Regions from separate parts of the Homo sapiens genome. Here all the other regions are linked to region 2. Evidence: promoter capture Hi-C in 16 types of primary human blood cells and fetal thymus (Javierre and others, 2016). All regions are on one chromosome and are shown on one strand. The core of a region is centred on a gene start or on the middle of the fragment in contact, and the rest is flanking DNA. Distances in the headings are between cores, read along the strand shown.

The links. The method cuts DNA at HindIII sites, captures the fragments that hold promoters and counts their contacts. A CHiCAGO score of 5 or more calls a contact.
Region 1: a contact is called between a fragment that was not itself captured here and the fragment with the promoter of LINC03102 in region 2, in 1 of 17 cell types (activated CD4 T cells). The highest score is 5.8, in activated CD4 T cells.
Region 3: a contact is called between a fragment that was not itself captured here and the fragment with the promoter of LINC03102 in region 2, in 1 of 17 cell types (activated CD4 T cells). The highest score is 5.7, in activated CD4 T cells.
Region 4: a contact is called between a fragment that was not itself captured here and the fragment with the promoter of LINC03102 in region 2, in 1 of 17 cell types (naive CD8 T cells). The highest score is 5.4, in naive CD8 T cells.

Annotation. Positions count from the first base shown.
Region 1 is chr1:70,193,831-70,196,683 of GRCh38, reverse strand. All of the region lies in intron 1 of LRRC40 (leucine rich repeat containing 40), which reads left to right. Among named protein-coding and RNA genes, the nearest start is that of LRRC40, 10 kb to the left of the region's middle. The HindIII fragment of the contact is 1,448 bases long and covers 547-1,994 here.
Region 2 is chr1:70,359,062-70,361,830 of GRCh38, reverse strand. LINC03102 (long intergenic non-protein coding RNA 3102) reads left to right here and starts at 1,394. Exons shown (of 2, transcript NR_183713.1): 1 at 1,394-1,534; 2 at 1,836-2,272. The region is part of intron 1 of ANKRD13C-DT (ANKRD13C divergent transcript); the gene reads right to left. RefSeq lists a silencer at 1,269-1,462 and an enhancer at 2,699-2,758. The HindIII fragment of the contact is 2,416 bases long and covers 455-2,769 here.
Region 3 is chr1:70,171,749-70,174,822 of GRCh38, reverse strand. LRRC40 (leucine rich repeat containing 40) reads left to right here. Exons shown (of 15, transcript NM_017768.5): 8 at 1,114-1,201; 9 at 1,313-1,358. Among named protein-coding and RNA genes, the nearest start is that of LRRC40, 32 kb to the left of the region's middle. The HindIII fragment of the contact is 4,336 bases long and covers 1-3,074 here.
Region 4 is chr1:70,495,043-70,497,825 of GRCh38, reverse strand. No RefSeq gene overlaps it. Among named protein-coding and RNA genes, the nearest start is that of CTH, 85 kb to the right of the region's middle. The HindIII fragment of the contact is 6,948 bases long and covers 1-2,783 here.

The sequences.
Region 1 (2,853 bases), core at 21-2,520, 170 kb after region 2:
TCTTTTAAAATTGCATGTAAATGAAATAATACATTTGCAATTTTTTTTTTCGCTTAGGGCTTCTTTTGTTTAGAATCATGTTTTTGAGGTTCATCCATGTTGTTTACATCAGTTGTTCTTTTTTTTTCTTTCTTGAGACAGTGTCTCCCTCTGTTGCCCAGGCTAGCATGCAGTGGCACAGTCATAGCTCACTGCAACTTCAAACTTCTGGTCTCAAGTGATCCTTCTGCTTCAGTTTCCCAAGTATCTGGGACTCATGGTGTATGCCACCATGCCTGGCTAATTTTTTTGTTTTTAATAGAGACGAAGTCTTGCTCTTTTTCCCAGGTTGGTCTCAAACTTCTGGGCTCAAATGATCCTCCTGCTATGGTCTCCCAAAGTGCTGCAATTATGGGCATGAGCCACCACGCCCAGCCAGCAGTTTTTTAAATTGCTGAATAATAGTCCATTTGTGTATACAATTCAATTTATTTATCCATTAGTCTGTTGATGGACATTTGAGTGGTTTCCAGTTTTTGGCTGTTATGAATAAAATTGCTATAAGCTTTCTTGTATAGTCTTTTTTTTTTTTCTTAGAAAGAAACATTTCGTAGGTCTTACAAATGGAAGGTGTGTCTGTGTCTTGGACAGTGGTGAGATAAGATGATGGATCTCTGTGCCTCATGTACAAGTCTTTGTGTAGACATACCATTTCTGTTGAATCCATACCTGACAATGGAATTGCTGTATTGTATAGTAGTAAGTATAGGTCCTGGCGTGGTGGCTCACGCCTGTACTCCCAGCACTTTGGGAGGCCGAGGCAGGTGGATCACTTGAGGCCAGGAGTTCGAGACCAGCCTGGCCAACATGGCGAAACCCCGCCTCTACTAAAAATACAAAAATTAGCCAGGCATGGTGGCACATGCCTGTAAGTCCAGCTGCTGCTCGGGAGGCTGAGGCAGAGAATCCCTTGAACCCGGGAGGCGGAGGTTGCAGTGAGCCAGGACTGCGCCACTGCTCTCCAGCTTGGGTGAGAAAGTGAGACCCTGTCTCAAAAAAACCCAAAAAGTATTTATTTAACATTATAAGAATTCACCAAACTGTTTCCCACTAGCAACATATGAGAGATTCAGTTCCTCCACCTCATTACCAGCACTTTGTATTCAGTCTTTTAAATATTAACTATTCTTGTGGCTGTGTTGGCATATTTTTTTGTGGTTTTAATTTGCATGTCCTTTAAAACTAATGATGTTTAGCATCTTTTCTACTGCCTTTTAGCCATTTATATATCTTCTGTTAAGTGTTTGTTCCAACTTTTGTCTTTTTTTTTTTTTAAATGGGTTTTTATTCTTGGGTAACGACTTTGTATATATTTGAGATACAATTCCGTCTCAGATATCTATATCAGTATCTGTCTAATATTTTCTCCCAGTTTAGCTTATTTTATTAATGGTAGCTTTAGAAACATGTAAGTTATAAATTTTTATGAAATCTAGTTTATCAATTGTTTTTCTTTTATGATGAACTTTTTCTGTCCCAAGACATTTTTTGCCCATCTGAAGGCTGTGAAAATTTTTTCCTCTGTTTCTTTTAGAATTTTTTAGTTTCATCATTTACATATAAGTCCGTGGTCCATTTGGAGTTAATTTTTGAGTGTGTCACAAGGTAAAGGTTGAGGTTCATTTTTATAGTTTATTTTATAGTTATTCCAGTACCATTTGTTGAAAACATGATTCCTTTTTTATTAAATTATATTGGCACCTTTGTTGAAAATCAATTTTCAATATTTTATTGTATGGAATTTTTTCTGAACTCTTTTTCCATTGACCTATGTGTTTATCCTTATGCTAATACTACACTATCTTGACAAATGTAGCTTCATGGTCAGACTTGGAATCAAATACTATAAAGCCTCCTGTTTTGTTCTTTTATTTCAAAATTGTTTGACCTAATTTAGTTCTTTTGCATTTCAATACACATTTTAGAATTGGCTTGTTAATTTCTACAGAAAAGCTTTCTGGGATTTTTATTAGGATTGTGCTGAATAAAGCCTCCTGTTTTGTTCTTTTATTTCAAAATTTTTTGACCTAATTTAGTTCTTTTGCATTTCAATACACATTTTAGAATTGGCTTGTTAATTTCTACAGAAAAGCTTTCTGGGATTTTTATTAGGATTGTGCTGAATCTATAAGTCACTTGGGGAGAAGCGACATCTTTGTAATATGGAGTCTTCCAAGCTGTCTTATGTTACATTTCTTTATTATCTAGACCTTCAAGTTTTCACAGCAATGTTTTGTATTTTCATATACAGATCTTGTACATATTTTGTACATTTAATACTATTTCATGGTTTCGGATGTCTTGTATTGTAAATCTTTTAACATTTAAACATTTTTTTATTTGATTGCTAATACATAGAAACATAGTTGATTTTTCTATATTGAGCTTGAATTTTGTGACTGTTCTAAACTCATTGATTGCATATAATTTTTTTGTAGATTCCTTAGCACTTTGTACATAGATGATCATAGTGTCTGTTAATTGGGACAGTTTTACTTCTTGTCCAATCTGAATGCCTTTTGTTTCTTTTATTTATTTCTTTTTCTTCTTTTTGTCTTACTGCATTGGTCAAGACCTCTATTAAAATATTAAAGTAGTGAGAATGGGCATCCTTGCCTTGTATACTCTTTTAAAGAGAAAGCACTGCGTCTTCCACCATTAAGTATGGTGTTAGTTTTAGGTTTTTCACAGATGCCCTTTGTAAGGTTGAAGGAGTTCCCTTTGATTCCTAGTTTTCTGAGTTTTTATTGTTGAATTTTGTCAGATGCTTTTTTTGTATCTCAACAATCACATAGTATTTCTCATTTTTCTGTT
Region 2 (2,769 bases), core at 145-2,644:
TCATATTCCAGATTATTGTGAGAATATAAAACACAAATCTTCAGAGAAGATGAAAGAAAAAAGATGTAGACTAAACTTGCACTAATATTTACATTAGAAACATTATTAGTATGCAATGCAATGAGAATTGAGTAAGGTTAGTAACTACAGATCCTAATTGGAAGTCTGTTGATATATTTAAAAAATATAACGAGTGAGATTTTATTTTGTACAGTACTGCTGTTCTGTATTTCATGTTACCATACTACTGCTTTTGTTAAATGAAGACACCAGGACAGGGATTAGGTGCTTTGTGTAGGGCTAATAGAGATACATAAATTTCTGGCAAAATTCACAACGTTCTTTCTTAGAGACAGATTTAACTGTCTAGTCAGTGTTTGGTGTTGGTGAGCACATAACTATCTAACAAAACTCTCATTAGAAAAAGTTGAAAAACATTCATTTTTCAGAAGCTTTTTGCTATTCAAGGCAAATTGAGCATTATTGAGTTAACTACACCAGGAGAGAAATTAATTTGCTAATTTGTAGAACTACAGAGTATTACCTAGCAAATTCAGTAGTTTAGTTCTCAGGGTTTTTTTTTTTTTCCTTTTGGCATGGAGTCTAGCTCTGTTGCCCAGGCAGGAGTGCAATGGCACAATCTCGGCTCACTGCAACCTCTGCCTCCCAGGTTCAAGCGATTCTCCTGCCTCAGCCTCCCAGGTAGCTTGGATTATAGGGGTCCACCACCACGTCCGGCTAATTTTTGTATTTTTAGTAGAGACGGGGTTTCGCCATGTTGGCCAGGCTGGTCTCGAACTCCTGGCCTCAGGTGATCCACCCGCCTCAGCCTCCCAAAGTGCTGGGATTACAGGCGTGAGCCACTGCGCCTGGCCAGTAGTTTAGTTCTATACTTGAATTGATGGATTGCATTCTATCTTGTAAAATTTGAATAAAAAGTAAATACAGTGTTTACCAGTGAAGTTATTTACTCATTACATATTGATATAATTGATAATCACTACATATTTTATCATATTGAATTCAAGACACTGTGATAACAGATTTTTTTGAAGCAAAATCCTGTTTTAAGTCTTTGGATATAGTACTTTTGCTGACCACTCTTGCATTTGTCTCTCCAACATTATTCCCCACCTCATTCCCATTATGAAACAGTTCACTGTTTGGAGAGCTGGGCCCCACCTCCGGCTCCGAGATCAATCCTGATTGGGTGAAACTAATCTGAGTAACCCCTCCTTCACAGGGGTTTGTCAGATAACCCAGGCTTGAGCCAATCACCGTTCTCTGGGACACAGATTGGACTGAGTTATCTTGTAACTGTCATACTCCAGATTTATGTGGGAGCAGGAACTCCTTTGGACCTTAAGGAGGAAGCACGTGGCTGCTTTTACCTGCTGGCAGTTATCTTGTGTTCTTGAAGGAAGCAGGCCTGAGGAGGACTCCTCATACAGAGAGAAACACCGAGAGATTCACTGAAAAACTGACATGGGATCCTGAGGGGCCACTCTTGAAGACTTATCTCTGCACCTTTCTGGTATGTAAGTCAATACATTCCTTTAATTTAACCCTGTTTCAATTGAATTTATTGTTACTTCTACATGAAAAACAAAAAGTCCTAAATGATATATCTACTCTTTGGCTTCATGTAAGAATTCAAGAGTGTAGCAGCTAATTTCAGTGTAGTTATATTGGGATTATTTAAGAAGTTTATTTAGCATCTCATTACTGAGTCTGCAGTTGTCTTAGTACCTTGTAGATACTTGGGGTTTTGTGTTCTAATAGACTGATTAATTCAACAACTGCTTATTATTAATATAAGCATTCACTCCCTGTAGGGCACTGTGCATACAGCAATGATCAGCATGATTCCAGTGCTCAGAGAGCTCCAAGGATTAGTTGAGACCAGACAAGAATATCAAGGAGGCATGCAGAAGTTACAATGGGAAATCAAAAAGAAGACAAAGGAGGGACACCTAATTCAGAACGATGGGTTTGTTGGATAGGAGAGAAAAGGAGACGAATGGGCAGGTATCATCAAAGATTCCTAAGAAGAAGTTCCTAACTTCTGTTTTTGTGCCATTGACTCTTTGGCAGTGTGGAGAAACCCAGGGACCCATTTTCAGAACAGTGTTTTTAAATGCATAAAATATTTTGGATTAAAAGGAAACTCTGAGTATTGAAATACCTAACAAAATATTTTAAAAGCAAATTTGTAATACAGTAATGTATATGCTTCTTTATTAACTAATTAAAGAACAAGATATAGCAATGAGCATACCTATTAAGATAATTTTAGAGGTACTAATGACTATAAATGAAATTTTGAGTTGTCTGCAGCAACTGTTATGTGAAATGAAAATACCTGTGGTTTTTTTGGTTGTGAAGTCACAGGTACTACTAATGCTAATACTATTGTGGTTTGTGGCATACGTTCATAATAGAATGACATGCTAAATTTTATTTGGAAAGTTAGTTCAACACAATTTCCTGGCTCTGAATTCTATGCCAAGTTAAAAAAAAATTTGTGCTAAGAAGGGATAAAATTTGATGTAATTCTTTTATTTATTTATTTATTTTTTTAGACAGAGTCTCGCTCTATCGCCCAGGCTGGTGTGCAGTGGTGCAATCTCACTGCAACCTTTGCCTCCTGGGTTCAAGCCATTCTCCTGCCTCAGCCTCCCGAGCAGCTGGGACTACAAGCAGACGTCACCATGCCTGGCTGATTCTTTTTGTATTTTTCAGTAGAAATGGGGTTTCACCATGTTGGTC
Region 3 (3,074 bases), core at 111-2,610, 190 kb after region 2:
TCTCCCTAAAAAGTTTCCTCATACCTTTTGCAGTCAATTCCCTTTCCATACCCCAACCCCTGGCAACCACTAATGTGCTATGTTACTATAGTTTTGTCCTTTTTAGAATGTCACATAAATGGAATTACATAGAATGTAGTTTTTGTGTCTGGCTTCTTTCATGTAACATAAAGTTTTTGTGATTCATGTGGTTGTATGTATCAGTAGTTTTATTTTTATTGCTGAGTGTTATTCTGTTGTACAGAGATAGATATACCGCAGTTCATGTGTCTTTTCAGTAGTTAGTTGATGGACATTTGAGTTGTTTTTGATTTTTTGCTATTGTAAACATCTGTGTGCAAGTTTCTGTGTGGACATTATTTTCATTTCTCCTGAGTAAACGTGTAGCAGTGTGTTTGCTTAGTTGTATAGTGACCATATGTTTAAAAGACTCCACTTTCGAAAGTGACTGTACTATTTTATATTCCCACCAGCATTGTAAGATAATACTTATTATATTTTAGTTAGCTGTATGTGTTTTTTTCCTTTGTTTAACTGAGGACTTGAGAACAAGAATCTTGATATCGCTATACCAGTGCCCTATATTTTGTAGATGCTTAATAGATTTTATTGATATTGAATTTTTATGTATGAATGGTTTTTAAAATGTGCCAGAGATGAAGATGACTTTCTTTATTGAATGGAAACATGAATTGGACATTCAAAAATTATCTTTTTCTATTTGTCATCTTTTTTCAATTAGAATTTTGTTTCCTTGCTCTAAGTGCAAAATCAAAACATTTGGTATCAGTGAGGATGTCTATCTTGAATCACTGATTCATTCAAATTTATGTTTAACATTTACTTTTTTAGCAAATGTTATAATTTAACAAATGTTTTATAGCTCACTTTTTTAAAATTAATCTCAGCATGACAATTTTGAAAACAAATCTGATTTTTCCTTTATATGTTTAGCATTTATCTTGAAAGGAAATGTTTTAGGTCTGCATTACTTGGCCTTTCTTTGAGACTATTCTGTGATATGTTGTTTGCCATATGATGTTTTATAGTTAACTATGGTTGGAGTATACTTATATTTGATGCTTTCCCTGAAATCAATTTAATCTTTTATAGTCTTCCCTATTCATTGGGGAACCTTCATTTGAAATTTTTGGCATTAGAAGGAAATCCTTTGAGAACAATTCGAAGAGAAATTATAAGTGTAAGTATATTTGGAATTCAGCTCTTTGTTAAATTGAAATTCAGACATATATGTTGATCTGTAAAACTGCAAAGCATGTCTTGGTGAATGTCTTTGTCTCCACCCTTCTAGAAAGGAACACAAGAAGTCCTAAAATATCTACGAAGCAAGATCAAAGGTACTTTAAAATGTTCTCTTATATTTTGAAGGATTCATAAAAAGTGGTGAAGAATTAATAGTACATAAATTTAAATGTCTTTTGGGTATACATATTTGGAAGTAATAGATCCTGGCATGTGTGGCTCTAATTCTAAATCCATATAGTCTGTAAGTATGCTGAGGTTATAAAAATATCTTTAAACTCACAATAATAATGTACTATCTGTAATCCCTTTGAATTGTGTTAAGTCTGCCAATTAGGAAATTTAACAAAAAAGATTCAGTAAGCACTTAGTACTTCAACTTTGAAAAAGGAGTAAAACTTGACTTTCAGGATATATGGGTTCTATTGACTAGAAAGTATATTGACAAGTATTTCATTATCTATTTTTCGTGCACAGCTTTGCTAAACTCTGACAAAATTTAAGACAAAACATACTTTTCAGGGTATGTTAATTTAGCAAGAACATGTACCAAAAGTGAAAATAATACAATAAACTTAATTTTTAATAATTCACTAAACATGTCATATACCCAATTTTTGTTTCATGTCTATCATTATAGAATAAACTAAAACATTTTGAAAAAAAAAAGTAGTTGTACGAGTGCTATGCTAAGAAACAAACCACTCCAAAACATAATGGCTAAATGCAGTAGCTGTTAATTTACCTCACAACTCTGTTGGTTATGCATAGCTTAGCTTAGCACTATGTTGCCAGTCAACATATATTAAATGAGTAAGATAATTGTGTAGTTTAGCTATTTTTTCTACTTTATCCTTCAAGTGAATTATTAAAATAATTTTCTAAGACTCTTATTTTCTACCAAGGAAAGTGTTTCCTTCTCCAAATATGCTTTCTCTTCCAGAACAAATTGATTATTCTGTCATGAATCAGTTAGAGGTCATGTCAGACTGATCAAAATTTTATGAACAGAAAGCCAAGATGAACTTAGTGGAAGTTACAGTTATATGCAAACATTTCTGCTAGACAGCTTCTATCCAAAGATGGGAGAGTGAATCCATGCATATAATTTTATTCTTTCCAGAAACCCCACAAAAAGAAAATTGGTAATGGAAATGTTTTAAAGGTGTACTTCCATAAAGATAGGGAGAATGGGGGAAAAATAAAATAATAAACATGTGGACATTGGAAAGTGAGTTGTTTAGTCAGTTTGGGCTACTATAATAAAATATCTTAGACTGTAATTTATAAATAACAGAAATTTATTGCTCATGGTTCTAGAGAACTGTGATCAAAGCACCAGCAGATTTGGTGTCTGGTAAGGACCTGTTTCTCATAGATGGCACCTTCTCCATGCTTTCAGATGGCAAGAGGAGGTTAATGAGCCCCCAAGACTTCTTTTATAAGGGCACTATTCCCGTTCATGAGGGTTCTGCCCTCAATATCTAGTTACTTTACAAAGGCCCTACCTCTTAATACTGTTACCTTGGTGGTTAGATTTCAACATAGGAAATTTGGGGTAACACATACATTTAGGCCATAGCATAAGTGAACAAATGGTGACTGAGTTAGTAGATCAGAAAGACCTTTTGGCTATTACAGATAATGCTGTAATAAACATTCTTGTACAGGTTTCAGTGTGAATGTATGTTTTCATTTCTCTTGGGTGTATATACCTAGGAGTAACATATTTCTCGATCATATGATAACTCTATGTTTAATCATTTGAAGAACTGCCAAACTGTTTTCCAAAGCAACTGCACCAATTTACA
Region 4 (2,783 bases), core at 181-2,680, 140 kb before region 2:
TTTCACATATAATTCAAGTCTCATGAGTTAATTTATCAATTTAATTCAACAGGAAATATCGAACTCACAATTTTCACATGTGGCATTAAATCTCAAAGTAACTTTAGAGTTAACATGTCTATTCAGTAAGCTAAAACAATATTGTGTCATATATTATGCTATTACCTTAAGTTTTAAAAATGAGTAAAAACACATGAAGGGGAAATTATAGTATTTATTATACCACGTAGGCTGTGCTAGACACATTGATTTCTTTGCCCAAAGTATCCTGCTTTCATAAGAAATGATCTCTCATCCACATGGTTACTACAGGAGCAGCCATTATCAGAGCTGCCTCATATTATCTTACAAAAGTTGATTGTTAGCACCTCTTCCAACTCCACATTCAGTGATATCATACTGGTCTCTTGAAATCAGCCATCGTGAGAATATTTACACCTCAAATTAGCAAATTGGTGCACCTCCTCTCTCCTCACCCCAAGAGCCAACTGTTACACATTGTCACCACATCACTGCATTAACATGCTATGACTGTCCCTTAGGTTATAATTACTTACACAGAGATAGACGCCGGACTCCTGCTGAACCAAGCAGACCTTTTCATGTAATTTGTGAAACTGGAGCTGAGAATAAAAGCCAATTTCTCTCCAGTGGCAGACACAGTAATAAGTAAATTTTAGGAGATGTTGGAGAGGAAAAGGGGGATTTTTTTTTTGTCTTTAGATCAGAGAACTAGAAACAAAAAGAGAACAAAATAAATATACAGAGGTGAGCAGAGATGAGAGATGATGATATAACTTTGGGATATTTAAGTCCCTTCTATTTATTCCAGAGTAGCACCTGCATTTCTATCCATGGGTCCCACTAGACACTTCATTTTCATTAGGACAAATTCCTCTGTGCTAATCAAATTTAATTACAATTTCAGAACTGTTATCTGAAAGATTCCTAACTAATATTTGAGTCCTCAAATATATACTACTTTAATCTGAACATCTCTCAAAGCCTTTCATATAGTGGTAGCTGAAAAAGTTTTCTCTTTGCTTTGGCAGCAGTGGTGGCTATCGAATGGGAATTTGATTGCAGTGTTGTTTCTGTGAATCAGATGGAACTAATCCTACCTCTGCAATTTGATCTCTTATCATCTTTTTACAAAATAACACATTAATTTTCTCTTACTTAAAAATGTTCTTTTATCAAAAGTATTTTTAATTTTCTAAAATGTAAATAATGTCTTTTCTATGCTTGAAGTGTTACTCTTTCGTATCATAAACACACCATCTGGATTACTAAAAGGAGGGATAGTTTTTATAGCCCTTTTGCTCAGCTCAAAACTGCTGTTTACATAAAGTCATACTTACCCAAAGCCAAGACTATAGGGTACAGTTGTGCAGGTTGTGCCCTGTACAAAGGCATCTAGCCCTTGGTGTGAGTAAAGGCCAGCCATGGGGAAAGGTGCTCAAGGTCTCCAACTGTGGCAGGGGCCTAGCCACCTGCCTGATACTACCCAAGAGTGAAATTGCTCTCCTATGAATTCTTGTGACTCATTTACCATCCTTTATAGCACGTTCATTTTGCTAACTTTCTTATCTCCTTTATTACATAAAAAAATATTTTGAGGTGGGAAACTGCATTATACTATCCTTTCAAGTGCCCCAAATGAAAACATTTGATTTGGCCAATGAACACCTGACAAATGAGATAATGTGTTTATAAGTGAGACTTTACATGCCAAAGTAGCACAAATCTTAAAGTTTCTTATTTTATTTAATGTGTAAACTTCACTTTCACTACAACTGAAGAGCTCTATATTACAGCAATATCTATGAGCCAAAACTCTGAGCTAAATAGGCCATAAAAATGGTATAAGGAAATATCCAGCTTACAAAAGAGTAACACAGACACAACTTAACCCCAAACTGAGACCAAAATATAATTATTTATTTATTGAAACATGAAGTAATTTGCCTCTTGCATATATAAGTGAGCCAGATAAGGGAAATGAGCATTCTAATCAAACAGCAATGCAAGATTAGAGCAAATCAAAAGAGAGCAATCATTTGTGAATGGAGGTAAATTAATTCCATTAAGTATGCCACAGAAATCTAGCATTAAAAAATTCAAAAATTCTAGCTTTGTGAACTTGAAAGATATTTAGAATCATTGTTCTAAGTGTCATGAAGCAGAAGCAGGCTCCAATTCATGGCCTACATTAAAACCAGGATGTGTTGATTTAACTCCAAAGATTAGACTACTGGGAGCCATATAATCAATAACCTCCAGGGATCATATTTCAATATCTCTGCCAATTTAATTATCGTACTCAGGTGCCAGCTTTCTTGTTTTATATATATATAAATTTCTGTGACACAGCCCTCGGGAGATCCTGAGAACATGTGCTCCTATATTCCACAGTTTAGAGCCAAGAATTAGCTTGAATGCAGGTGCACAGAGTTAAATTACCTAGTTTGTATCATTAGAGTAGTTGAGAATCAAAGTCCCTAAAGTTATACCATATCAATTTCATTAAACAGTTGACTCTTCAACAACACAGATTTGGACTGTGTATGTCCACTTATACTGAGATTTTTCAACCAAACTTAGATTGAAAATCCAGTATTAAAGAAATGCAAAAGCTACCTATATGGAGGGCCAACTGTTTGTATATACTCAGGTTCTGCAGGACCCACTGTGGGGCTTGAGTATGCAAGGATTTTGGTATGGATGGGGGCCTGGAACAAATCCCCTGCATATATCAAGGGACAACTGTACTTAAAAGCAAA